Regions from separate parts of the Homo sapiens genome. Here all the other regions are linked to region 4. Evidence: promoter capture Hi-C in human tissues and cell types (Jung and others, 2019). All regions are on one chromosome and are shown on one strand. The core of a region is centred on a gene start or on the middle of the fragment in contact, and the rest is flanking DNA. Distances in the headings are between cores, read along the strand shown. Region 1 holds the start of LOC100996662 (a long non-coding RNA gene). Region 2 overlaps ARHGAP39 (Rho GTPase activating protein 39). Region 3 has its middle 19 kb from the start of C8orf33. Region 4 holds the start of COMMD5 (COMM domain containing 5). Region 5 has its middle 7.7 kb from the start of C8orf33. Region 6 has its middle 24 kb from the start of ZNF252P-AS1.

Evidence for each region. Contacts are between HindIII fragments. The study calls those that stand out against the background at their distance.
Region 1: a fragment that was not itself captured here is called in contact with the fragment with the promoter of COMMD5 in region 4 in 2 of the 25 tissues and cell types used here (lymphoblastoid cells and mesendoderm cells).
Region 2: a fragment that was not itself captured here is called in contact with the fragment with the promoter of COMMD5 in region 4 in 5 of the 25 tissues and cell types used here (IMR-90 fibroblasts, heart right ventricle, lymphoblastoid cells and 2 more).
Region 3: a contact is called between a fragment that was not itself captured here and the fragment with the promoter of COMMD5 in region 4, in 9 of the 25 tissues and cell types used here (IMR-90 fibroblasts, adrenal gland, bladder and 6 more).
Region 5: a contact is called between a fragment that was not itself captured here and the fragment with the promoter of COMMD5 in region 4, in 5 of the 25 tissues and cell types used here (dorsolateral prefrontal cortex, heart left ventricle, mesenchymal stem cells and 2 more).
Region 6: a contact is called between a fragment that was not itself captured here and the fragment with the promoter of COMMD5 in region 4, in 5 of the 25 tissues and cell types used here (H1 embryonic stem cells, bladder, lymphoblastoid cells and 2 more).

Annotation. Positions count from the first base shown.
Region 1 is chr8:144,699,703-144,704,378 of GRCh38, forward strand. LOC100996662 (a long non-coding RNA gene) reads left to right here and starts at 689. Exons shown (of 3, transcript XR_001746144.3): 1 at 689-776. It also overlaps a transcript of ARHGAP39 not described here. RefSeq lists an enhancer at 1,732-2,931. The HindIII fragment of the contact is 4,670 bases long and covers 620-4,676 here.
Region 2 is chr8:144,658,816-144,663,480 of GRCh38, forward strand. The region is part of intron 1 of ARHGAP39 (Rho GTPase activating protein 39); the gene reads right to left. Among named protein-coding and RNA genes, the nearest start is that of ARHGAP39, 25 kb to the right of the region's middle. The HindIII fragment of the contact is 7,618 bases long and covers 1-4,665 here.
Region 3 is chr8:145,069,709-145,074,052 of GRCh38, forward strand. No RefSeq gene overlaps it. Among named protein-coding and RNA genes, the nearest start is that of C8orf33, 19 kb to the left of the region's middle. The HindIII fragment of the contact is 6,005 bases long and covers 71-4,344 here.
Region 4 is chr8:144,850,527-144,854,616 of GRCh38, forward strand. COMMD5 (COMM domain containing 5) reads right to left here and starts at 2,522. Exons shown (of 2, transcript NM_014066.4): 1 at 2,313-2,522; 2 at 1-869. The coding sequence starts at 812. The coding sequence ends at 138. RefSeq lists silencers at 379-530, 2,563-2,752 and enhancers at 1,737-2,585, 2,163-2,492, 3,043-3,142. The HindIII fragment of the contact is 6,847 bases long and covers 1-4,090 here.
Region 5 is chr8:145,042,695-145,046,842 of GRCh38, forward strand. No RefSeq gene overlaps it. Among named protein-coding and RNA genes, the nearest start is that of C8orf33, 7.7 kb to the right of the region's middle. The HindIII fragment of the contact is 3,904 bases long and covers 740-4,148 here.
Region 6 is chr8:145,025,139-145,029,410 of GRCh38, forward strand. It overlaps the pseudogene LOC124902043. Among named protein-coding and RNA genes, the nearest start is that of ZNF252P-AS1, 24 kb to the left of the region's middle. The HindIII fragment of the contact is 6,073 bases long and covers 1-4,272 here.

The sequences.
Region 1 (4,676 bases), core at 1,705-4,204, 150 kb before region 4:
ATCAGTGCCCAAGTTGACTTCGCGTCACCAACTGGCATGAGGTTTGGGTAGGAAAGCGGGCTTCTCACAAGAATAAAATCCATCAAGGTCCTCTGTCTCCACTGGAGCCCCCAGTCACAGCGCCTTCCTCCGGGCTAGAACCTGTCGGGGGCCCCCAGCCTGTCCAGGGCCGCTGTCTTCCAGGAAAGAGAGAGCTGTGCCCAGAGAGGAGACAGAACTCTTTCTCCGTGAATCGCATCCTTTTCTGTGCGGGATGATTTACATTCTGGGAACAAACGGGGCCGTATCTCACAGTGCTGCAGGATGCCAGTGGTGCAAACAGTCGGCGACCCGGCCATTTCCCGAGGGTCTCAGGCGTCCCACCCAACGGCCGCTCCCCGTTCCCTGTCCGTCACCTCCTCGTTCTCCTACGAAGGCGCGAACGTTCCAGACTCTCGCCGGTCCTCGACAGCACTCATTCAGTCTCCCCCCTGGAGATCCCAGGCTGTACTCTGGGACAGAAAAGAAGGCGGGTACGACCGCGGTGTCGGGTCCTACCTTAGCCGCTCCTTCTCCTGAGGGAGCCAGGCGGGAGAGAGGGGAACCACCGAGGCCTCGGTCTTCCCGCGTCCCAGAGCGGCCGGGCGAGTCTCACTTCCGGCCTGTGACCCGCTGACCTGTCCTTGTCCCACCAGTCGGGCGGTGAATTGGACTGACTGGTGACCCCTGGCACCAGGCTTCCCCATGGGCACCGGAGCAGGCGGACAGGGGTGGGGTCCCGCGAGCGACACGGAAGGGTCAGTGTGGCGGAGCGGACCCTGTGGAGGCGGGGTCACTGTGCTCCTGAGAAGGGTCCTCGGGGGTGGAGTCTATCAAGGTTGCGGGGGCGTGGTCACGGAGCGGAGCCAATAAAAGCGGGGCGTGCACGGCCGCGGGCCAGTGCCTATGAAGGGCGAGGGGTGTGGTCACAGGGCGGGATCTACGAAGGATGCAGGGGCGAGGCCGGGTCTCTGCAGGATGTGCGGTCGCGGGTCGGAGTCTATAAAGGCAAGGGGCGGGGTCCCTGGGTTGGGTGAGGGGTGTGGTCATGGGGGGCAGGTCTGTGTAGGGTGAGGAGCTTGTTCCCCGAATGAGGGTCTGTGAAGGGTGAGGGGCATGTTCCTGGGGTGGGGGTGTTTGTGAAGGATGAGGAGAGTTTTTCCGGCATGAGGGGCTGTGAAGGGTGAGAGCCATGTTGCCGGTGGTGCGGGTCTGTGAAGGGTGAGGGGAGTGTTCCTGGAGCAGGATATGTGAAGGGTGAATGACGTGGTTTCGGGGTGAGGTTAGTGCAGGATGAAGGGAGTTGTCTAGGAGCTGTGTCCTCTAAGGTGAGGGGCGTGGTCTCTGGGCGGGGTCCGCCATTTTGTCTGGTGAAAGTTGGGAAGGGACAAGCGAGACTCCCACCTCTGGCCTCATCCTCAGCCCTGCGTTTTCCCCACTTGTACTGCCAGAAAGCTGAGTGGTGGCAATCACTTTTGGAGTCTTCCTGAGACAATCCACCAATATGAAGTAAACTCGAGGAAGTGAGAGGAAATCATTCGTTCATTCATTGATTCCACTCAAGGATCACCCAGGGCTCCTCTCTCAGCTCTTCTTCTCACGTCCAATGCCCTACAAGATATCTAGAAGCTGCCCTGCTGTCCCTGCACGGCTCTTGGGCCGGAAGCGTGCTGGGGGTGGTGGGGGCCAGGGAATAGCATAAAGAGGGAAATGTGGAGCAGAGCCTGGCTCTGTCTGTGCAGGACTCTCCTCTCAAGCATGAATGGCCATGGGATGGTGATGACAGGTGGTACCTCTGACTTAGCAAACGTGGAGCACTGAGATAGGAAAGGGCCACTGGACCCCAACCTGTGCCCTGGACCACAGGTTTCCTCCCGTGTCCTCTCCTGCCTCCAGACTGCCCTCTGCAAGAAGCCAGAGTGATGTCTTCCATTGCTGCTTGTTAGAAATAAATGCTCATTCCCTGGTGTCGCAAGGAAGAGGCAGCATTTAGACAAAAAGTACTCTCAGCAAGGCAACTTTACTTTCTGCAGAAATGGTACTGCTTGCCAGCAGTCTTGCCAAGAGAGTACACCGAACAAAGGGAGACAGGAATATGTATCCCTAACGCATGAGGTCCCTACTGCTGTGTCCTATCTCCGTTGGCTGAGTTGGACCTCACATTCTAGGCTGAACTTAATTGGTTAACAATTTAAAACTTTCTAAATAGGTAAAGACAATGAGGAACAAAGGAAAAGAGGAAGTTGCTTACGAAAGGACTTTAGAACAGTAATAACATTTCTGAATAAGGAAGGGGCATAGGCTGCAAGCTGGGACATGTCTGGGCACGTCCAGCACGAATATTTCGGTTAAGGTACAAGGACACAGAATGTACTACATGTCTGTGAAAATGTCTAACACAAATACTGAAGTCAGAGTATACAGGCATACGGTATGCTTATTCTGTTACATTTGCTATATAAGGCATAACAGAGTTATCACTATAAAATAACAAGCTTGAATAGAACTAGCTCTGAGAGAAAATACCAATAACATTTCTGATTTAAAGAAGAAACTTTGAAGAGGAACTTTTTACTTTCCACACTGCTCTTAATTTTGAGAATGTTCAAATCCACAGAAAAGTATTATGAACACCATAAACTCTTCATTTAGATTCTATAGTTGTTGACATTTTGCCACACTGGCTGTATCTTTGAATATATTTACTTTTTGCTGCTGAAAAGTAATTTGAAAATACCGTTGACCCTTGAATAATAAAGGGGTTGGGGCAGTGACCCCTGTGCAGTTGAAAATCAAAGCATAACTTTTAACTCCCCTAAAATTTAACTACTAATAGCCTACTGTTGACTGGAAGCCTTACGCATAACATAGTCAATTAACACATTTTTTATGTTATATGTATTATATACTCTATTCTTTAGATAAGCTAGAGAAAAGAAAATGGTGTTCAGAAAATCATAAGGAAGACATAATATATTTAATATTCATTAAGTGAAAGTGGATCATCATAAAAGTCTTCATCCTCATTGTCTTCACATTGAGTAGTCTGAGGAAGAGGAGGAAGAGGAGGATTGGTCTTGCAATCTCAGGGGTGACTGAGTTGGAAGAAAATCCAATTATAACTGACCCTTGCAGTTCAAACCTGTGTTGTTTCAGGGTCAGCTGTAATTTGTAGACATCATGACACTTTCCCTTAGGTACCTCAGCCTATTTCCTAGAGATGAGGACATTTTCTTACATGATAGCAATACTTTATTTCACCTGAGAAAATTAACAATTATCCCGTGGTCCCCGGGCACGGTGGCTCATGCCTGTAATCTTAGCACTTTGGGAGGCTGAGGTGGGTGGATCACGAGGTCAAGAGATCGAGACCATCCTGGCCAACATGGTGAAACCCCATCTCTACTAAAAATACAAAAATTAGCTGGGTGTGTTGGCATGCACCTGTAGTCCCAGCTACTTGGGAGGCTGAGGCAGGAAAATCACTTGAACTCAGGAGGCAGAGGTGGTGGTGAGCCAAGATCGTGCCACTGCACTCCAGCCTGGCGACAGAGTGAGACTCCGTCTCAAAAAAACAAACAAAAGCAAAAATCCTGTGGTCACATAACTTATTTCTCCAATTGTCTCTAAAATGTCTGCATAGCTGGGTTTTTCCCCTCTAATTCAGAAGCTAATCAAGATTGCATGTTGCATTTAATTGTGTCTCTTCAGGCTGTTTTTTTTTTTTTTTTTTTTGAGACAGAGTCTCGCTCTGTCGCCCAGGCTGGAGTGCAGTGGCGTGATCTCGGCTCACCGCAAGCTCCTTCTCCTGGGTTCAAGCCATTCTCCTGCCTCAGCCTCCCGAGTAGCTGGGACTACAGGCGCCTGCCACCATGCCCAGCTAATTTTTTGTATTTTTAGTAGAGACGGGGTTTCACCGTGTTAGCCAGGACGCTCGATCTCCTGACCTCGTGATCTGCCTGCCTTGGCCTCCCCAAGTGCTGGGATTACAGGCGTGAGCCCGGCCTTTTTTTTTTTTTTTTTTTTTTTTTTTTGGAAACAAGGTCTCACTCTGTCCCCAAGGCTGGAGTGCAGTGGCGCCATCATGGCTCATTGCATCCTCATCCTCCCAGGCTTAGGTGATCCTCCCACCTCAGCCTCCCGAGTAGCTGGAACTACAGGAATGTGCCACCACGCCTGGCTAATTTTTTGTATTTTTTTATAGAGACCAAGTCTTACCATGTTACCCAGGCTAGTCTCAAACTCCTGGACTCAAAGGATCTGCCTGCCTTGGCCTCCCAAAGTGCTAGGATTACAGGCCTAAGCCACCGCACCTCGCTGGCTGTTTTAATCTGGAATAGCTTCCCTGCTTTTTGTTTCTCTTTAGGACACTGACTTGTGACCATGTGTGGCCATCTATCTGTGTTATACCCCATGTTCTAGGTGTAACATGGAGCCCACACAGATTAACACTCCCTGCCCTTCATGCCCCAGTGGGTGGAGTCGTGGTCTCTGCTGTCCATGAGGCAGAGGTGGTTGAGGTGACATGCAGCCAATTATGGCTTGCCCCCAACCCCCTGGGCCCAGCTGCTGGGGAGAGACCCCTGCTGACCACCTTTCCAGGGTCCAGCTCAGGCCGTGCCCCTCCACCTGCAACCATGATGCCATGGTGGCTTCTT
Region 2 (4,665 bases), core at 307-2,806, 190 kb before region 4:
AGACAAAATGATTATATATGTAAAAAAATTAAAACATTAAATATTAATGTTTAATATTGGGGTAAATATTAAATTTAACCAATATTAGAAATAAGTTTGGCAAAATACATGCACTGAGTAGTACAAAGTACTGATGAAAGACATTTAAGAGGACCTGAATCATGGGGAGGTGTACCAGGTTCATGGATGTGGCAGCCCAACAGGGTTAGGGTGTAATAGCCCCATTGTCTTTCTGTCCAATCCTATTCTGTTCACTCACTCCACAGGTGCTAATCCCAAAAGCATTCCTCAGTAAACTTCCTAAAGACAAATCAACTCAGAGTCCACTTCCCAGGGAACTCGACACAAACAGCAATTAATAATATACACTGTAAAGGACATAATTACTGTAATCAAAATGACAGGCAGCTAGATAACCAGCAACATGCTGACCAGAGCCATTAGCCTACCACCAGCCTAACCACACATTCACACCCTGAAGGCTTGGAGGAAACACCTGGTAACTCCCAACACGTGCTGGGAAGCTGCTCATTTGAAGAATGCTTCTTAACACAATTAGATATGATCAAACGATGTTGCCTTTTTCAATCGTTTTTGACCTACAAAAAACTAAAGTTTCACGTGTTCAACTTTCTGTTTCCATTGAGTCCTGTCTTAACCATGACAAAACGTCTCTGAGGCCAATGAGTGCCCACTTTTCAATCACACCAGCCCTCTGATCTAAGAGTGGAGAGACAAGTGTTATTTCTAAGTCAATGTTCCAAGTTCAAGCTTAATTGGAGGACATTTTCTAGACTATTTCATGGGACCTAAACAAAGCAATCAGAGAATCCCAAACAATTTTTTGCAAAATCTTCCGGCCTTGGCTTATTCGCTGGTTCTGATGCTCTGCCACCCCTTCACAGCTCACTGACACATGCTCTCTGCAGAGCTAAGCTAACAATTGCTTCTCTCATCCCCATTCTCTGGCTGTCTTGAGGGGTCCACTTATTCAAGCCCCACTCTAACTGTGGGACGCCCCAAGATGCATTTCCCTCTACATGCTACCCTTTGAACTCCTCATTCTGTTCCCCCAGTCTCCGTTATAATCCCTCTGTAGCTAAGTCCCAATTCTCTACCCAACCACCTCTCTCCCAAATGCCAGGTTCACCTCAGTTTACAAATGCCAGATGGACATTCCTTGGGTGGTGTTCCCTCACCTGAATCACAATGCTCCTCCTCCCCAGATCACTCTTCCCAACCACCACATGCACTTGCATTGTGCATCTCTTTCTGTCCACAGCACATGCCACTCTGCCCCCGACCCCTGGGTCAAAGGTGTGGAATGCTCCCGTGTCTCCTCCTCCTGGACCCTAGGTCTCCACCACTGTCCATCCCATCCAGGGCACCTTGGCGTCAGCTCTGCAGCACCTATTCCCACAAGCCTGAATGGTCTCTCACAAATTCAAGACTGAATTCCCTCTTGCTGGCCTCTGGTTAAATAATATAAGATTATTCATGCTTTCAGCCTTTCCTCCCCTAACCCCATCTCACCCCTACTACCATATTAAAGAATCTCCAAAAAAGCCAGCCAAGGTCACATCACTTTCATCGTGATAAGCATTCACTGGTGCCTCTAAAATAAAGGGACAATCCTTGCATGAGCACATTCCTTGGAACTGCACTGTGCAACACACTAGTCACTTGTCACTATGCTTAAAGTAAAGTTGAGTAATATTTAATACTCAGTCTTGCAAGCCATGATTCCGTGCTCAGCAGCCACACATAGGACAGCAGGCTCTAGAAAACACTTCTCTCAGGATCTTGGCCCAGACTGACTTCCTACTTCTGCTCTGTTCCAATAAAAACCATCTCTAAATAAATAAATGAATAATTTTTTAAAAGGCTGGGTGGGTGGCTCACCCCTATAATCCCAGCACTTTGGGAGGCCGAGGCAGGCAGATCACTTGAGGTCAGGAGTTTGAGACCAGTCTGGCCAACATGGTGAAATCCTGTCTCTACTAAAAATACAAAAAAAACTTAGCTGAGAGTGGTGGTGTCCATCTGTAGTCCCAGCTACTCGGGACGCTGAGGCAGGAGAATTGCTTGAACCTGGGAGGTGGAGGTTTGCAGTGAGCTGAGATTGTGCCATCGCACTCCAGCCTGGGTGACAGAATGAGACTCCATCTCAAAAAAAAAATAGGCATGGTGGCACACGACTCTGTAGTCCCAGCTGCTCAGGAGACTGAGGCAGGAGGATCACCTGTGCCCAGGAGATGGAGGCTGCAGTCCAGTCTGGCTGCAGACGGCCCTCTCAGCACCGCCGTGAAAACACATGCAGTCCTACACAGGGTCCCAGCAGCTTCACCCACTCCGGGACCACCATGGCCCCTTCACACACAGGCAGTGTGGAGCAGAGGAGGCCATTCCACTCTACACACAGGAGGAGGCCATTCCACTCTACACACACAAGGCTCCCAAAGCTCTGTGAGCAACATCTCAGCCTCTCCCCGGCTCCTCTTTGCGCATTCGCGCGTGACACTCCTGCAGAGGTGGGCTCCACACACCAGCCACCTGGCCTCGGTCTCTTTCCTTCTAACAGGAACAGCACCCTCACTCCTGTGATAGTCTCAACTCTCTTGGGCCCATGCTTACCTGGCAAACACCTGTGGTTAACCCAGCACTCCCCATCCACACCTGCCGCTAAACACATTCAGAGGAAAACAGCCTCTAACCAGCCTTCCCCTTTCTCCCCTCCCAATCCTCACACCAGCCCAAGGCCTGAGGCCATCTGGCCACCAGGCTGGTCTCGAACTCCTGCCCTCAACTGATCTGCCCGCCTCAGCCTCCCACAATACTGAGACTATAGGTGGGAGCCACCATACAAATGAATGAATGAACGAGACGGGGTTTGCTGTGTTGCCCAGGCTGGAGTGCAGTGGTGTGATCACAGCTCACTGCAGCCTTGGGCCACTACCCGCCTCTCCATTATCCACCTTGGACCCCTCCTGTGTCTCTATTATCCACCTTGAACTGTTCCCTCCTCCCCATTATCCACCTCGAACTGCTCCCTCTCCCCACTATTCACCTTGGACAACCCCCCACCCCGCCCCCCTTTCCGCATCTCCATTATCCACCTTGGACAGCTTCCTCTTCCCCGTTATCCACTTTGGACTGCTCACCCTCCCCATTATCCACCTTGGGCCTCTTCCCTCATCCCCATTATCCACCTTGGACCGTTCCCCACATCCCATTATCTGCCTTGGACCACTCCCCACTCCCCATTATCTGCCTTGGCTTGCTCCCCTTCCCCATTATCCAACTTGGACCGCTCACCTTCCCCATTTTCCACCCTGGGTCACTTTCTCTCCCCATTATCCACCTTGGATCACTCCACCCTCCCCATTATCCGCCTTGGACCGCTCCCCCGTCAGCATTATCCACCTTGAACCCCTCCTTCCTCCCCATTATCCACCTTGGACCATTCCCCGACTCCCCGTTTATCCACCTTGGACCACTCCCCCTCCCTACTATCCGCCTTAGAGCGATTCCCCTCTCCCCGTTATCCACCTTGGACCACGTTCCACTCCCCATTATTATCCAGCTTGGACAGCTCTCCCCTCCCCATCATCCACCTTGGGCCGCTACCCGCCTCCCCATTATCCACCTTGGGTCACTCCTCCCCTCCCCATTATCCACCTTGGACTGCTCCCCGTCAGCATTATCCACCTTGAACCCCTCCTTCCTCCACATTATCCACCTTGGACCGCTCCCCCTCCCACTTATCCACCTTGGACCACTCTCCCTCCCGATTATCCACCTTGGGCCGCTCCCCACTCCCCATTATCCACCTTGGATCACTCCTCCTCCCCATTATCCGCTTTGGACTGCTCCCCACTCCCTATTATCCACCTTGGGCCATTACCCGCCTCCCCATTATCCACCTTGGCCAGCTCCCTCCTCCCCATTATCCACCTTGGACTGTTTCCCCCTCCCCCTTATCCACCTTGGGCCACTCCCCCCATCCCCATTAGCCACCTTAAACCGCTCACCACTCCCCATTATCCACCTTGAACCACTCCCCACTCCCCATTATCCACCTCGGGCCTATCCCCCACCCCCATTATCCACCTTGGACTGCTCCCCACACCCCATTACTCACCTTGGGTCACTCCCTTCTCCCCATTATTCACCTTGGACCAGTCCTCCCCATTTTCCACTTTGGGCCGCTCCTCACCTCCCCATTATCCATCTTGGGTCACTCCCCACCCCCCATTATCCATCTTGGACTGCTCCCTCCTCCCCATTATCCCCCTTGGCCCACTCCCCCCTCCCTATTATCCACCTTGGACCACTCTCTCCTCCCTGGTTAACCTTCCTCACTTGGCCTCTTGGTCACTAAAGCCCCTGTTTGTGCTGCTATAAAGGAATACCTGAATCTAGGTAATTTATTTTTTAAAAAAAAGGTTTATTTGGCTCACAGTTCTGCAGGCTGTACAGGAAGCACAGCACCAGCGTCTGCTTCTGGTGAGGCCTCAGGAACCTTCCATTCCTGGCAGACAGGAATGAGAGCTGGCATGTGGAGATCACACAATGAGAGATGGAGCAAGAGAGAGACAGCTCTCAAGGGAACTGAGTGAGAAGTCCCTCCTGAGAGAACGGACCAAGCCACTCATGAGGGAGCCA
Region 3 (4,344 bases), core at 1,823-4,322, 220 kb after region 4:
GGTGGCGCCAAGGTCGTCTCGCTATTTATCCTCTGTTTCTTTCCAACTTTTTGCTTTCTCCCTTTTCTCCTGCCTTATAAACTAGGGAAAAGGGGAGATTGGGGAGAAGCTGGGAAGGACAACAGGAGAAGTGGTGGTCTCATTCTGTATTTCCCCCCTTTGAGAATTTTCACTTCTTAGTGGGAGTTCTCACTCTCATCTTCACTTTCTGGGTCTCTTTGTGAGATAGAGCGATAGTGATTTATATAATACACATGTGCTGAAGTTTTTTGATGAACCAAAGTAGCAACAAAACTTTTTATCATTTGAAAAAGCAAGAGTAATACACAGGGGAGCAGTAAGGAAGTTCCTATTACTAGCAATACACCTACAATGAGGGTTTTAAATCCTCCTATAGCTGGAAACCATTTTCCAAATAAAGACTCAGGATCAAACTCGTGCCAAACCTGTACAGGCACATCTGCCAACTTTGTCATGTCCCTGACTATGTTTTCAACCACCTGTCCTTGATCATCTATTTGTAGGCAGCAATTGGTTAAGTTAAATTTTCTATGAACTCCTCCTTCAGCTGCGAGCAAGTAGTCCAAGGCCAGTCTATTCTGATAGATAACATTTCTCATTTGGGTTTCCTGCCAAGCTAAAACAGTCAAAGCTCTGCCAGTTTAATTAGTAATTATTTCTAAGACAGCCTGCAACTATATGATCCGATTGAGCATGTAGATGGGGGTTCGGTATCCCTATGAGCCGTCTTGTGCCCATGTGGCAGGCCCATAATACTGTATGATCCTTTCAGGGGGCCACTCATTATCTTTCCTATAACTATGCCTCTCTTTTCTCGGGAGGCATAGACAGGGAAAATTAGGAGCTCACCCGTTTTTATGGGGATGGCTTAATAGTGCCAATAACACAACTGCCTGCCCACTTATTAGGTAACTGAATGTAGGCTCTGTGCCCACATTTCCAGTATAGGCCAGCGGGAGCTGCCCAGTCCTGATGAGATTCTGGATGAGCCCAGGCAGTTTTTAATTTAGAAAATTTACTAAATGGGTTCTTTTCAGTGTGGTTTAGGCCCCACCAAGTAATTGTCTTTGTTGTGCTGTTGTACAACTTCTGTCCTATACAATTAAGCTTTCCTACAGGGATGATAAATTCTTTTCCTTCTCTAGCTATACAGTATTGTCCAATAATTGAGGTTTTTAGGACCCAGAAGTTGCTAACTTGGGCCTTCTGAACTGGAATTATATTAGGAGCTGGATCAGTAGGCACCAACTCTCAGGCTTCCCAAGGCCATCGGTCTCCGATAGTGGTTTCCCCGCATATATAAGATGTAACATTAAGTGAATGAGCTACATTTCCTGCTAATTGGAGAAACAAATTTTTTGTCTTTTTCGGAAGTTCTGGTGCTGGCAGATTCAGCTCCTCATAAAAGGTTTGAAACACTGGTTTGGGAGAGCGCTTGTGGACTTCCCCTCTAACTAAAATGGCAACTTGGGGGTTTAACCCTGTCCCATCGATCCCCAGGGTTACACATTCTCCCTTTTTCCAAGGAGGATCTAGGGGATTGGTAATTATTAGTTCTAGTGGGTTACAGTGACCGGCAGCACAGGAGGGGTTGGCTTCCCCCTTCTGAAGATGAACAGGGTCCTTTTTGTTCTTTTTCCAAGTAGCCCAAATAACACATGGCCAAAAGGCACAATTTTCACAAACCCCTGACTCATGACAAACATATTTATTTTGTACTCTGTAGCTCCTTTCCCAGTTAAGAGAACCACATCGTGTTCCTAACTTGTTACTATTAATGGCTGCACGAGCATCAAATCTTAAAGTTATTTGTTTGGGGCTTCCTTTTTCTACTGTTCTAGTTATTATTTTACTTGTGTCACCTAGGAAAAGGCCAGTTCTTAATCTTATTTCAAAAACGGTGGTTGCAGGGGGCTCAGATGGGTTATAACACACATCGGGTCGGTCATTTCCTGGGCTACATACCTTGTACTGAGTGGCATTATACAAACAAGTTTCTTTTAATGTTCCCATACATTCATAATAACTATAGAACAGAAAGTTTGTTTTAATTTGCTGTCCTACCTCGGTGACCTGATGAATACTCTGGGAACAGTCCCCAGTTTGAGTAAGGTCAATTGAAGCCCTTACTGTGTAAGTCCAAAATTTAAGAAAAATGAATCCCACGATGAGCTTCCTCATGCTTCGGCCGTGCGTGGACCAGTCAGCTTCCGGGTGTGACTGGAGCAGGGCTTGTCGTCTTCTTCAGGGTCACTCTGCAAGGGTTGTCTGGGCTTGGTCTTGCCTCCCAGGTTTCAGACGGTTTCATGGTGTTCTCTTTGAGCTGGAATTATAGTTGACATTTCATTATAATTTATTAGCTGTTCTAGACTTTATGCATTTATGTGACATTTTCTTTGTTGTACTTTAAGTTCTGGGATACATGGGCAGAGCATGCAGGTTTGTTACATAGGTATACACGTGCCATGGTGTTTGCTGCACCCATCAACCCGTCATCTACATTAGGTATTTCTCCTAATGCTATTCCTCCCCCAGCCTCCCACCCCCCGACAGGCCCCAGTGTGTGATGTTCCCCTCCCTGTGTCCATGTGTTCTCTTTGCTCAACTCCCACTTATAAGTGAGAACATGCAGTGTTTGGTTTTCTTTTCTTCTTTTTCTTTCTTTTTTTTTTTTTGAGACAAAATTTCACTCTTGTTGCCCAGGTTGGAGTGCAATGGCATGATCTTGGGTTACCGCAACCTCTGCCTCCCGGGTTCAAGCGACTCTCCTGCCTCAGCCTCCCAAGTAGCTAGGATTACAGGCATGTGCCAACATGCCTGGCTAATTGTGTGTATTTTTAGTAAAGACGGGGTTTCTCCATGTTGGTCAGGCTGGTCTCAAGCTCCCCACCTCAGATGATCTGCCCACCTCGGCCTCCCAAAGTTCTGAGACTACAGGCATGAGCCACTGCTCCTGGTCTGGTTTTCTTTTCTTGTGTTAGTTTGCTGAGAATGATGGTTTCCAGCTTCATCCATGTCCCTGGAAAGGACATAAATTCGTAGTATTCCATGGTGTATATGCGCCACATTTTCTTTATCCAGTTTATCATTGATGGGAATTTGGGTTGGTTCCAAGTCTTTGCTATTGTGAAGAGTGCTGAAATAAACATACAGTGCATGTGTCTTTATAGTATAATAATTTATAATGCTTTGGGTATATACCCCATAATGGGATTTACACTCCTACCAACTAATTTACACTCCTACCAACAGTGTAAAAGCATTCCTATTTCTCCACAGCCTCGTCAGCATCTGTTGTTTCCTGACTTTTTAATAATGGCCATTCTAACTGGTGTGAGATGGTATCTCATTGTGGTTTTGATTTGCATTTATCTAATGACCAGTGATGATGAGCTTTTTTCAATATGTTTTTTGGCCACATAAATGTCTTCTTTTGAGAAGCATCTGTTCTTTTCCTTTGGCCACTTTTTGATGGGGTTGTTTTTTTCTTGTAAATTTGTTTAAGTTCTTTGTAGATTCTGGATATTAGCCCTTTGTCAGACAGATTGCAAAAATTTTCTCCCAGTCTGTAGGTTGTCTGTTCACTCTGATGAGTTTATTTTGCTGTCCAGAAGCTCTTTAGTTTAATTAGATCCCATTTGTCAATTTTGGCTTCTGTTGCCGTTGCTTTTGGTGTTTTAGTCATAAAGTCTTTGCCCATGCCTATGTCCTGAATGGTATTGCCAAGGTTTCTTCCAGGGTTTTTATGGTTTTAGGTCTTATGTTTAAGTCTTTATTCCATCTTGAGTTATTTTTTTTGTATAAGGTGTAAGGAAGATGTCCAGTTTCAGTTTTCTGCATATGGCTAGCCAGTTTTCCCAACATGATTTATTAAATAAGGAATCCTTTCCCATTGCTTGTGTTTGTCAGGTTTGTCAAAGATCAGATGGTTGTATGTGTATGGTCTTATTTCAGAGTTCTGTATTCTGTTTCATTGGTCTATGTGTCTGTTTTTGTACCAGTACCATGCTGTTTTGGTTACTGTAGCCTTATAGTATAGTTTGAAGTTGGGTAGTGTGATGCCTCCAGCTTTGTTCTTTTTGCTTAGAATTGTCTTGGCTATTTGGGCTCTTTTTTGCTTCATGAGAATTGTAAAATAGTTTCTTCTAATTCTGTGAAGAATGTCATTGGTAGTTTAATGGGAATAGCATTGAATTCTTCTATAAATTACTTTGGGCAGTACGGCCATTTTCATGAATTAATTCTTCCCTATCCATGAGCATGGAATGCTTCTCCATTTATTTGTGTCCTATCTGATTTCTCTGGGCAGTGGTTTGTAGTCCT
Region 4 (4,090 bases), core at 1,272-3,771:
TAATTACGTTCAAACACTCACTGAAGAGCCTGCCTCATGGGAAGGGCAGGGCTGTCGTGGGAAGAGTCAGCTGCACTTTGGCACCATCTCAGGTGCCTGTCCAAGCCGGATCTGAATGGGACTGGTCAAGTGAGGGGTCAGTCCTGCAGTCTGCGCTCACACCTCTTCTCCAGATCTGCCATCTCCTTTAGGACCAGGGCCACGCTGTACCGCAGCTCCTGGAACTTGGCTGTGGGGACCTCAAAGCGGTATGCTGACCCATCTGAAAGCTTCAGCTGCATCAGGACGCTCGGCTGCAGGGAGCGAGCCAGGGCACTGGTGGAGATTGCTACATCCACCCGCCACCGAAAGTCAGCAACATGCGGCAGCCAGGCCCCCTGCTGCTGGGCCACAGAATCAAGGAGGGGCCGCTGGCTCCCAAATACCACGCTGGCCAAGTCCCCGACCAGGTCTTGGGGGATGCAGAGCTCCTGGAGCTGGTCCCTGAAGGTGTCAGGCTTCAGGCTGGTGGGGGGCAGACGGAGGGCCTGCTGGAGCAGTGTGTGCATGCCTGCCAGCAGGGCACCCAGCTGCTCCTCCGGCAGGTTGGCGCTGACCCCAAGACGCTGCACAGCCTCTCGGCAGTCCTCCCCCTGCAGGCTGCTGACCACAAACTTCAGCAACTTTCTGAACGTGCTCCTGTCTAGGTCCCCTAGTAGCCGGGCCATTGCTGCCACCTCTGGAGGAAGCTGGGCCCCCAAGAAACTCACTCGGCCACTGTGACTATCACCAGGATGATGCAGGTATGGAGTTGCAGCCCCCACAGCAGACATTGCTGCTGCTTCCTCTTTGATCAGCCAGCCCAGGAGGTCGGTCCCAGATGCAGATGCCTAGAGTGGGGTGGAGGAGAGAAGACCAGTGACTCTCACATCCTTTGGGCCAGCGAGTGAGGGTTGATATGGTCCCCATCATCAGCATGCTGACAGTGTGAACTACCAATGACAGTCAGTGCTGCGGAGATGGCCCTGGAAGCAGGTGGCAGAGGGGTCCATGTCAGTCCCAGGAGGAGCGGAGGCCTCCCAGAGGAAGTGACATCTAAGGCATGAAGGACAAGCAGGAATTGGCAGAGAAGTAGGGGGCAGGGAGGAGGACCAGGAAACAGCACAAGTTCTCCAAGTAAATTAATAGATGAAAGAATGAACTAGGGGAACGGTCCGGGGAACACAGGGACACTGCAGCTGGCGCCACAGACCACACTGAGACCATTTAACTATTCAATCTTGAATCCTTCACAACAGTGGGCAAGAAGAATTACCATTCTCACCTGACAGAGAGGGAGATAAGGCTCTAGGCCAGGTGCAGTGGCTCAAGCCTGAAATCTCAGCACTTTGTGAAGGTGAGGCCAGCGGATCGCTTGAGCCCAGGAGTTGGAGACCAACCTGGGCATCATAGCAAGACCCCGTTTCTACAAAAAATTTAAAAAACTAGCCAGGCGTGGTGGTGCACGTCTGTAGTCCCAGCTACTCAGAAGGCTGAGAGGACAGAGGATCCCTTGAGCCCAGGAAGTCGTGGCTGCAGTGAGACGAAATCGAGCCGCTGCACTCCAGCCTGGACAACAGAGATGCTGTGAGGAAGGAAGGAAGGAACGAACGAATGGAGGGAGGGGGGAGGGAGGGGAGGCAGGGAAGAAGAAAAGAAAAGTAAAAAGAAATCAAAGCTCTAAACACAGCTGCCAAAGTCAAGGACTGAAGCCTAGACCTGTCTATTCAGAAGTCCCAGCTGTTTCCACCACAGCCCCAACCCCCGGGCTGGAAGAGCTGAGCAACGGCTGGCAACAGAGGCAAGTGCGGCAACTAAAGAGGGTTCCGACGCACCTGAAGGAGCAGTGCAGCAGCACAAGCACCTGCTATGCCAGAGGAAACGCACGTGCCCACCTCAGCACACCAGGTACTGGAGCAGAGCTCAGCGGGGCACAGCTCCTGTCCTCGAGGCACTTGTCAGGCCACTCTGCACAGCGCTGGGGGAGCCCAGGAGCTCCCCACGGGCTTCACGGCGCCCCATTCTCCCTGGGAGTCAACGACCACCCACTGCCAACTCCTTCACCGTCCCGCCAGCACCAGGAGCTCCTTCCCACTCCAAAGAGCCATCCGGGAAGGCCTCCGAGCTGCCCGCTTCCGGTCGCGCGGCTTGGAAGGCCGGGTTCGCACCCTGACTCCGTACCCGCGGCTCTGATGGGGGCGCGGCGTCGCCCGTTCCGGGGCGCGGGGACCTTGGTGCACAGAGTCAAATTGGCACTCGGCCGTCGCCGCCCCCACGGTTCGGGGCCAACCTACCGGCGGGCGCTCCTCCGCGGAAAAGCCCCGCAGTATCCAGAGCTCTCCGAACACAGCGGCGAAGCAGCCTTTCCTAGGCCCACACCCCCAGCTCGGGAGGGAGACTCCATCCTACTCCACCCCACGCTCCCGCTGTCCGAGTCGCCCCCAGCACCTGGCGCCGGCAATCCCCGGCTGATGCAGCCAAAAGCGGGCCTGGTCCCCGGAAGCGCCCTGAGAGCCACTTCCGGGCCGCTCTAGGAAGGCAGCAATGACCGCCCCACTGTGGTCCGCTGGCCCGAGGGGCGGAGCCGAGGCCGCGCCAGGTCCCGCCCCCTCCCCGCCCGGGGGAATCGGGGGTCGCCGGCGGGGTCCCAGACCTCGTCTTAGACAGTTTTTTTTTTTTCTTTCCCCAAAGAAAAAGAAGGCGGTGTTGTGTTTCCGTTTCTGAGGTAGAAACTGCGGCCTGCGCCCGCGTCTCCCTCCCCGCCCGCGCAGAGTGAGGGTAAAGCGGGAGAACGCGTCCCGTGGTCTGGGGTCAGAATTCCAGTCACCTGAGGCTGAGGAGCTCGCTGGCTTTCGTCGGCGTCCGGGTGGGCGGCGGGGAAACCGCGAGACCTTGAGGATCAGCGCGGAGCGGAGCCGAGCGGGCGTCCCTGTCCCGTGTGGACGGTCTGCGCCTCCAGGGTTTTGAGAGCTGCCCCGTTTCCCCTCCTGTCGGGTGGCGTCCGGCGCGCGTGACTCGGTTCCGCTTTGGGCTGCTCTGTTGGGCCCTAGCGCAGGAGCTCGGTCCGAAACAATGGCCGAGCCATTTTATTTAACATGTACTTTACCATAGTTAAAAAATAATATGCCAAAATCATTGAATTGTACAAAATGGGTGAATTATATGGTATGTGAATTATAGCCCAATAAAACTTAAAAAAAAAAAAAAAACTCTGAAAAGGGAAACAACCTAATTAAATGGGCAGAAGATGTGAGTAGACATCAAGGAAGATACAAAGTGGGTAATGGGTACATGAAGCCTTCGGCATTGTTGGCTATTAGAGAAATGCGAATGGAAGCCACGGGGAGGTGCCATTTCATACCATTAGAAGGGTTATAATAAAAATGACAGGTTGGGTGCGGTGGCTCACGCCTGTAATCCCAGCACTTTGGGAGGCGGAGGTGGACAACCAGATCTCAGGAGAACTCTATCATGAGACCATAACTTAAGGGCATGGTACTAAACCATTCATGAAAAGCCACCCCCACGATCCAATCACTTCCCACCAGTCTCCACCTCCAGCATTGGGTATTACCTTTCAGCATGAGGTTTGGGCGGGGACACAGATGCAAACCACATCAGCCATACAATGGAATAGTGTTCAATAATAAATAGGAGTGGAGACTGGGTGCAGTGGCTCATGCCTACAATCCCAGTACTTTATGAGGACTAGGTGGGAGGACCACTTGAGGCTAGGAGTTCAAGACCAGCCTGGGCGACATATCAAGGCTTCATTTTTACAAAATTAAAAAAAAAAACAGGTGTGGTGGTGTGCACCTATAGCAGGGGTCCCCAACCCTCAGGCTGTGGACCGCTACAGGTCAGTGGCCTGTTAGGAACTGACCTCACAGCAGGAGGTGAGGGCAACCTATAGTCCCAGCTATTTGAGAGGCAGAGTGAGGACCACTTCAGTTCAGGAATTTGAGACCAGCCTGGGGAACATGGCAAGACTCCATTTCTAAGACAAAACAAATCAAGTCTAAAAACCATGCTGAGGGAGGATTGTTTAAAGGGAATGGATCTGGGAAGTTTA
Region 5 (4,148 bases), core at 1,442-3,941, 190 kb after region 4:
GAATTTTAAAATGTTTTATAGGGATGGGGTCTTGCTATATTTCCCAGGCTGGTCTAGAACCCCTGGGCTCAAAAAACCCTCCCACCTCAGCCTCCCAAAGTGCTCAGATTATTGACATGAGCCACTGTGCCTGGGCCTTCTTTGGTTTTAATTGAGCATTTTGTATGATTCTAGTTTTTTCCTTTCATCACATTAAGTATACATTTTTTTACTTATTTTGTATTATTAGTAGCCCTTGAGTTTGCAGTGTACATTTACAACTAATCTGAGTCTTTTTTCAAATAGTGCTATACTACTTCCCAGATAGTACAATTACCTTATAACAGAGTATTCCCAATTCTTTTCTCTCATCCCTTATAACATTGCTATCAGCTAGGTGCAGTGGCTCACGTCTGTAATCCCAACACTTTGGGAGGTCCAGGCAGTTGCTTGAGCCCAGGAGTTCCAGAGCAGCCTGGGCAACAAAATTAGCCAAGTATATTGGCACATGCCTGTAGTCCCAGCTACTCAGGAGGCTGAGGCAGGAGGATCACTTGAGCCTGGGAGGTGGAGATTGCAGTGAGTCATGATCGTGCCACTGCTCTCCAGCCTGGGCAACAGAGTGGGACTCTGTCTCAAACAACAAACAAAAAACTCCACTTTGCTATCATTCATTTCACTACAATCACCAAATACATTGCTATTATTAATTCAAACAAACTGTTATCCATTAGATAATTGAGAATAAGAAAACTAAAATATTTTATTTACCTTTATTGATTTTGCCTCTAATGCTCTTCCTTTCTTTATGTAGATACTAGTTTCTGATTTATCATTTCCCCCTCTCTGAAGAAGTTATTTTAATAGTTCTTGCAAGGTTAGATCTACGGGCAATAAATTCCCTCAATTTTTGTCTGAGAGAGTTTTTATTTCTCCTTCATTTTTGAAAGATAATGCCACTTTATACAGAATCGGGGCTGGTGTTACTTTTAACATTTTTTGGAAGATAAAACTGATATAATGCTTACCCTTGCTTAGTTTTTTTCTTTCTTGCCTTTTTTTTTGAATGGAGTTTTTCTCTTGTTGGCCAGGCTGGAGTGCAATGGTGCAGTCTCGGGTCACTGCAACCTCTGCCTCCCAGGCTCAAGCAATTCTCCTGCCTCAGGCCTCCCAAGTAGCTGGGAATACAGGCATGCATCACGACACCCGGCTAATTTTTGTATTTTTAGTAGAGACGGGTTTTCACCATGTTGGTCAGGCTGGTCTGGAACTCCTGACCTCAGGTGATCCACCCGCCTTGGCATCCCAAAGCACTGGGATTGCGGGCATGAGCAACCGTGTCTGGCCCTCCGGCTTCTTTGAAGATTTTTTTTGTTCTTCATTTTCTGCAGTTTGAATATGGTATGTTTGTGTATAGAATTTTGGTATTTATCTTGCTGGTGTTGTCTGTACTTTCTGGAACTGTGGTTTGGTGCATGTTATTAATTTTGCAAAATTTTATTACAATTGGCTCAAATATTTCTTCTGTTCCTTTCCTTCATTCTTCTTCTGGTATTCCCAATATGCATATGTTACACCTTTTGCAGTTGTCCCACAGTTCTTGGATGTTCTGTTTCATCCTTTTTATTCTTTTTTTCTCTTAGCATTTCTATTTTGAAAGTTTCTACTGACATGTCTTCAGGATCATTGATTCTTTCTTCAGTTGTGTCCAGTCCTTTTGTTGTTGTTGTTTTGAGATGGAGTCTTGTTCTGTTGCCCAGGCTGGCTCACTGTAACCTCTGCCTCCTGGGTTCAAATGATTCTCCTACCTCAGACTCCCGAGTAGCTGGGACTACAGGTGTGTGCCACCATGCCCGGCTAATTTTTGAATTTTTAGTAGAGATGGTGTTTCACCATTTTGGCCAGACTGGTCTCAAACTCCTGACCTCAAGTGATCCACCCACCTTGGTTTCCCAAAGTGCTGGGATTACAGGTGGCAGTCTTTATTTCTGTCATGATGTTTTTGATTTCTAGCATTTTCTTTTGATTCTTTCTTAGTGTTTCCATTTCTCTGCTTATATTACCTATCTGTTCTTGCATATTGTTCTCACTTTCCATTAAAACCCTTTGCATATTAATCATAGTCTTAAAAATTCAAGGTCTGATATTTCCAACATCTCTGCCATAAGCTCAGTTTGGTTCTTATGCTTGCTTTTTCTTTTCAAATTCTATATTTTTTGTGTGTCTAGAACGTGTGGTAACATTTTATTGAAAGTGAGATACGATGCACTGGTTAAAAGGAACTGATAGTTAGGCCTTTAGTGTGAGGTTTTTATCTGGCCCGCGGTTAGGCTGCGTTTTCTGTTTGCTGCAGCTGTCAGTATCAGAGGCTAAAATGTCTCCAGCGTCCTTGTTTTGGTCTCCCTTGTTGCCTTTGGGTTATCCTAGAGACTTCTTGAAGTTTGAGACACACAGTTCTTTCAGTTATATTCTCCCCTAACTATTCAGGATCTCTAGTGCTGGGGTAAGATATGAAGGGAGGGGAAACATCACATAATCTTATGAGTATGTCTCAGTCTTTCAGTGAAATTGTGACCCTCACAAGTGCTTCTGAGTTTTGTATTGGTTTATCCCCCTTAGATGAGACAGAAAGGCTAGAGCAGGTTGGAGTTGGGTATTTCCCTTTCCCCAGGTCAGTTTGTCTCTGGTAAAACCTCAGCAGGTTAGGCTCTGGTAAAATAGTTTCTCCTGAGGTTGGGCTTTATGAAGAACCATACGCTCTGGGCATATTTCAGAATGGCTAATTTCCCCCTCCCACTGCTGGAAGCATGAAGGGATTTTTTTTCTTAGATCTTCACTGTGAGAACCTGTTATGGCTTCAGGAGGTAAAGCTCATGAAAGTGTGTGGGTTCCGTTAAAACTGGGCCATACTGGCATTTTTACTGTCAGTGTGCGTGAGCACTCAGCAGGCACTAGGCTCAGTGACGGGGTCAGTTCTGTGCCTTAGCTTCCTCCTGTGTGTTCTTTCCCTAAGCAGTCCCATGGGGCTGAGACACAGCATCCATAACCCTGATGAAGTGTCATCATTGACCATCTACAAACACTGGGCCCTGAATGGAGCTTAGTTAAACTGCCTTCATCTACTACCTAGCTGTACCAGGGACCACTATTTAAGAGACATGAAAAGAAATCCAGAATCCCCAAGTGTCTGTATTGCCTGGGGGTGATCATGGACTGTTATTGACCTCTTGGTGTTTGGAAGGCTGCTTTTAGATACTCCTGAATCTGTTTGCCACATAACTACATGTATTACATATTTCATTTGATTACTTTCTTAGTTATGGTTTTCTTTTCTTCTTTTTGGAGATGGAGTTTTGCTCTTGTTGCCCAGGCTGGAGTACAATGGTGCAATCTCAGCTTACTGCAACCTCCACCTCCCGGGCTCAAGTGATTCTCCTGCCTCAGCCTCCCAAGTGGTGGGGATTACAGGCATGTGCCACCACACCTGGCTAATTTTGTATTTTTTGTAGAGACAGAGTTTCACCATGTTGGCCAGGCTGGTCTCGATCTCCTGACCTCAGGTGATCCACCTGCCTCGGCCTCCCAAAGTGCTGAGATTACACGTGTGAGCCACCACGCCTGGCTAGTTATGGTTTTCTATGCTTTTTTCTTGATTGTTTCAGATTCTGAGACCCAGCTAACTACAAACATGGAAGTTTTTAAATAAATAGAGCCACTTGAGGCCCAACACTGTGGCTTACACTTGTAATCCCAGCACTTTGGGAGGCCGAGGCAGGCTGATCATGAGGTCAGGAGATCGAGACCATCCTGGCTAACACGGTGAAACCCTGTCTCTACTAAAAATACAAAAAAAGTAGCCAGGCGTGGCAGTGTGCGCCTGTAGTCCCAGCTGCTGGGGAGGCTGAGGCAGGAGAATGGCATGAACTCAGGAGGCGGAGCTTGCAGTGAGCCAAAATCGCACCACTGCACTCCAGTCTGGGTGACAGAGCAAGACTCCATCTCAAAAAAAAAAAAAAAAAAAAAAAAAAAAAAGAAAGAGAGCCACTTGAGGTGGGAGGTGGATATTGGAAAGATTTATATGTAACATTCTGCAGGAAGCCAAGCTTGAAGAAACTTATAAAAATTAGGGAGACTGGGGGCCAGGTGTGGTGGCTCACGCCTGTAATCCC
Region 6 (4,272 bases), core at 187-2,686, 170 kb after region 4:
ATGATACTAGCAAGTCAGCTTGTTCATTTTCCTTAGTTAATTGCCCTGGTAAATTAGTATGTGCTCGAATATGAGTAATATAAACTGGGAAATTTCTTTTTCTTACAGTTTGTTGTAACAATTTAAACAGATGATTTAACTGATAATCCATACTATATTTGATTAGAGCTTTGTAGCCTTTGTAGCCTGTACTATATATGCAGAATCTGAAACAATGTTAATAGGCTGATTAAAATCTTGTAACACTGAAGTGACAGCAACCAATTCTGCTCTTTGAGCTGAGTGATATTGAGTTTCAATGACTCATTCTTTTGGCCCAGTGTAAGCCACTTTTCCATTGCTGAAACCATCAGTAAACACTGTCAGAGCATTTTCTAAAGGTTTTTGTCTGGTAATTTTAGGTAAAATCCAAGTAGTCAATTTTAAAAACTGGAAGATTTTTGTTTCTGGGTAATGATTATCAATAATTCCCACAAAATCAGCTAGACCAATCTGCCATGCAGCAGAATTGATAAAGGCTTGTCTAACCTGTTCCTTGTTTAAAGGAACAATGATTTTATCTGGGTCACTTCCACACAATTTTACTATTCGTAGTCTTGTCTGACCAATTAATGTAGCCATTTGATCTAAGTACAATGTAAAAGTCTTAACTGTACTGTGAGGAAGGAATGACCACTCCACAAGATCTGTATTTTGAACAATAATGCCTGTTGGAGAATGTGCAGTAGCAAAAATCAAAAATTGGAGTGGGGCTAAGTGATCTATTCTATTTACTTGTGCTGAATTAATTTTTTCTTCAACTAATTCAATTTCTTTAGTTGCCTCTGGAGTTATTGTTCTTTTACCATTCAAGTCTGGATCCCCTCTCAAGATAGAAAACAAATTTGACATGGCATAAGTAGGAATGCCTAGAGTTGGCCCAATCCAATTAATATCTCCTAGCAATTTTTGAAAGTCATTTAATGTTCTTAATGTGTCTTTTCTTATTTCTATTTTTTGTGGTTTAATTTTTCTTTCCTCTACCTGCATTCCCAAATAATTAAAAGGAGTGGAGGTCTGAATCTTATCAGATGCTATTGTCAGGCCTGTGTTTGCAACCTCTGTCTGCAGAAACATGTAAAAGTCAATTAATTTGTCTCTTGTTTCTGCAGCACACAAAATATCATCAACATAATGAATGATATAACAGTCTGAAAACTGTCTCTAACTGGTTCCTGGGTCCTGAATCTTTTCCCAGGCCCTGAGGCAAATAGCCCCTAGTTGTTCAATAGCCTCATTTTGCATTACTGATTGTTGGTTAATAGTGCTCCAATTTGGACGTGTTCCTAGCAATTGGTCTGCATCTATATTAACAACAGGATAAGTAGCCTGATTTTTCCGTACCTGTTCTTGTACTCCATCAATCCACCAGGTTTTAAACTGTAGATACTGAGAGGGTGAAAGGGAAGATTTAGGTAAAATTTCCCAATCATAAGGAATAAGTCTATTTCCATGAGCAATGGAATCTAATAACGTTCTCATATAAGGAGAGTTGGGTCCATATTGTTTAGCTCCTTCCTTTATGTCTTTTAACATTTTCATGGTGAAATATTCTTACCTAGCCTCCGTTCGGACAGACGCTCCTGCTTGACTCCCTTTCCTGGCCCTTTCCCGGCCGGTATCGGTTGTAACATTACCGGATACTGCCATGCCTCAAGATCTCCCTGTTTTCTGGCTGTATCAACGGTCTCATGCAGTGCACTATCTTGTCCACTAGCTGGTACTGTAGGATCAAACACCATCGCCGTGGGTTGTTGATATAGTGCCCTACTATTTGGCACAGGATCCCATCTGGGATCTATACTGCACCTCTGGAGATGGCCGATACTGAAATTCGGCTGGCGGCCAGTGTTGATAAACTACCAGTGGTTGGGTTTTATTTTCAACCAGCTGATATTGTAGATACTGTGTCTGTATTGGCATTTGAGGTTGTAATGTCACAGGCATCTGAACCACAGGAGAAGGAGTTGGTGGCCATCGTGGTCTAAACTCTGATGGCCCGAATAATTCTGGACCTCCTTCCCCCAATTTTGATGATTCAGGATATATTACCTCCTGTAATTGATTATAGTCAACATTTTGCATTGACTGAGCCATTACAGACTCTACTACATTTTTATAATGTGAACTTTCCATTCCTTTCTTGAACTCTGTTCCTGTCTCTTCTTCACAATCTATTACACAGCTTTCAGGGGCATCAGAAACTGAAACGCTATCTTCTCCTGTTTGAAATGGTTCTAAAGTTGCTTTAATAATGGCCCAATCATTCCATACTGTAAGTGGGATGATTTTACCTTCCCTACTTGCTTGTTTTAATTATTTGCCAATTTTTTCCCAATCTTTTAAATCTAAAGTTCCCTGTTCTGGAAACCATGGGCAGAATTGTTCTGTTGTTTGAAACAGTGTAATTAGATTTTCCGTAGAAGCTTTAACTCCCCCTCTTCTTAAGAGAATTTTAATGAAGCTGAGATAAGAGGCATATTTACTTTCAGTTTGCCCCATTGTTACCCTGGATTCCTCTGAGTGCACAAGGTTACCGGAAGGCTGACCGTGGACGTACTCGGGAATCTCTCGTCGGCTGTCCTCGATGCTCACATTCTTAGCATAGCTTCACCCTAGAGAAAGGCACCCACGTTGGGTGGCAGATGAAGGGGTGGCCTGCCCCTCCACACCTGTGAGTATTTCTAGTTGGGTGGGATGAGAGACTGAGAAAAGAAATAAGACAGAGAGACAAAGTATAGAGAAACAACAGTGGGCCCAGGAGAGCGGCACTCAGCACACCAAGGACCTGCACCAGCACCGGTCTCTGAGTTCCCTCAGTTTTTATTGATTATTATTTTCATGATTTCAGCAGAAAGGAATGTAGTAGGAGAGCAGGGTGATAATAAGGAGAAGGTCAGCAAAAAACATGTGAATAAAAGAATCTATGTCATAATTAAGTTCAAGGGAAGGTACTATGCCTGGATGGGCACGTAGGCCAGATTTATGTTTCTCTCCACCCAAACATCTCAGTGGAGTAAAGAATAACAAGGCAGCATTGCTGCCAACATGTCTCGCCTCCCACCATAGGGCAGTTTTTCTCCTATCTCAGAATTGAACAAATGTACAATCGGGTTTTATACCAAGACCTTCAGTTCCCAGGGGCAGGTAGGAGATGGTGGCCTTCCTCTATCTCAACTGCAAGAGGCTTTCCTCTTTTACCAATCCACCTCAGCACAGACCCTTTATGGGTGTCAGGCTGGGGGATGGTCAGGTCTTTCTCATCCCATGAGGTCATATTTCAGACTATCATATGGGGAGAAACCTTGGACAATACCCAGCTTTCAAGAACAGAGGTCCCTGCGGCTTTCCGCAGTGGATTATGCCCCTGGTTTGTTGACTCTAGAGAATGGCGATGACTTTTACCAAGTATACTGCTTGTAAACATTTTGTTAACAAGGCACGTCCTGCACAGCCCTAGGTCCCTTAAACCTTGATTTCATACAACACATGTTTTTGTGAGCTCCAGGTTGGGTCAAAGTGGCTGGGGCAAAACTACAAATTAACAACATCTGAGCAAAGCAATTGTTCAAAGTACAGGTCTTTTTCAAAATGGAGTCTCTTATGTCTTCCCTTTCTACATAGACACAGTAACAGTCTGATCTCTCTTTTCTCTACCACAATCATTATCCAAAAAAGAAGATTTTTCAGTTTTTAAAGCTAACAACATGGGTCCTTCCAAAAATTACCAATAGTGCTCCATTGGAAGGAGGAGTCACTGTGTTTACAGATGGCTCTAGCAATGGAAAAGCAGCTTATATAGGACCTAAAAACAAAATTATTCAAACTGACTTTCAATGGGCACAAAGGGCTAAATTACAGACAGTTATAGCTGTGTTAGAAGACTTTAAGCAACCTGTAAATATTGTCTCTGATTCACCTTATGTTGTTCAAGCCATTCAATACATAGAAACTGCACTCATTAAATATCTTGTGGGTGAACAACTCTATCAGCTGTTTTCTTCTTTACAAAAGACAGTGCATGATCGCTGTTTTCCTTTCTATATTACACACATTCAAGCACACACTAATCTTCCTGGGCCCCTTGTAAGGGCTAATGGTCAAGCTGATTTACTAGTTTCAACTGTGCTTACTAATGCCCAAGATTTTCACTCCTTGTGAAACACATGTTAATACAGCAGGACTTAAACAAAAATATCAGATTACTTGGAGACAGGCAAAGGACATTGTACA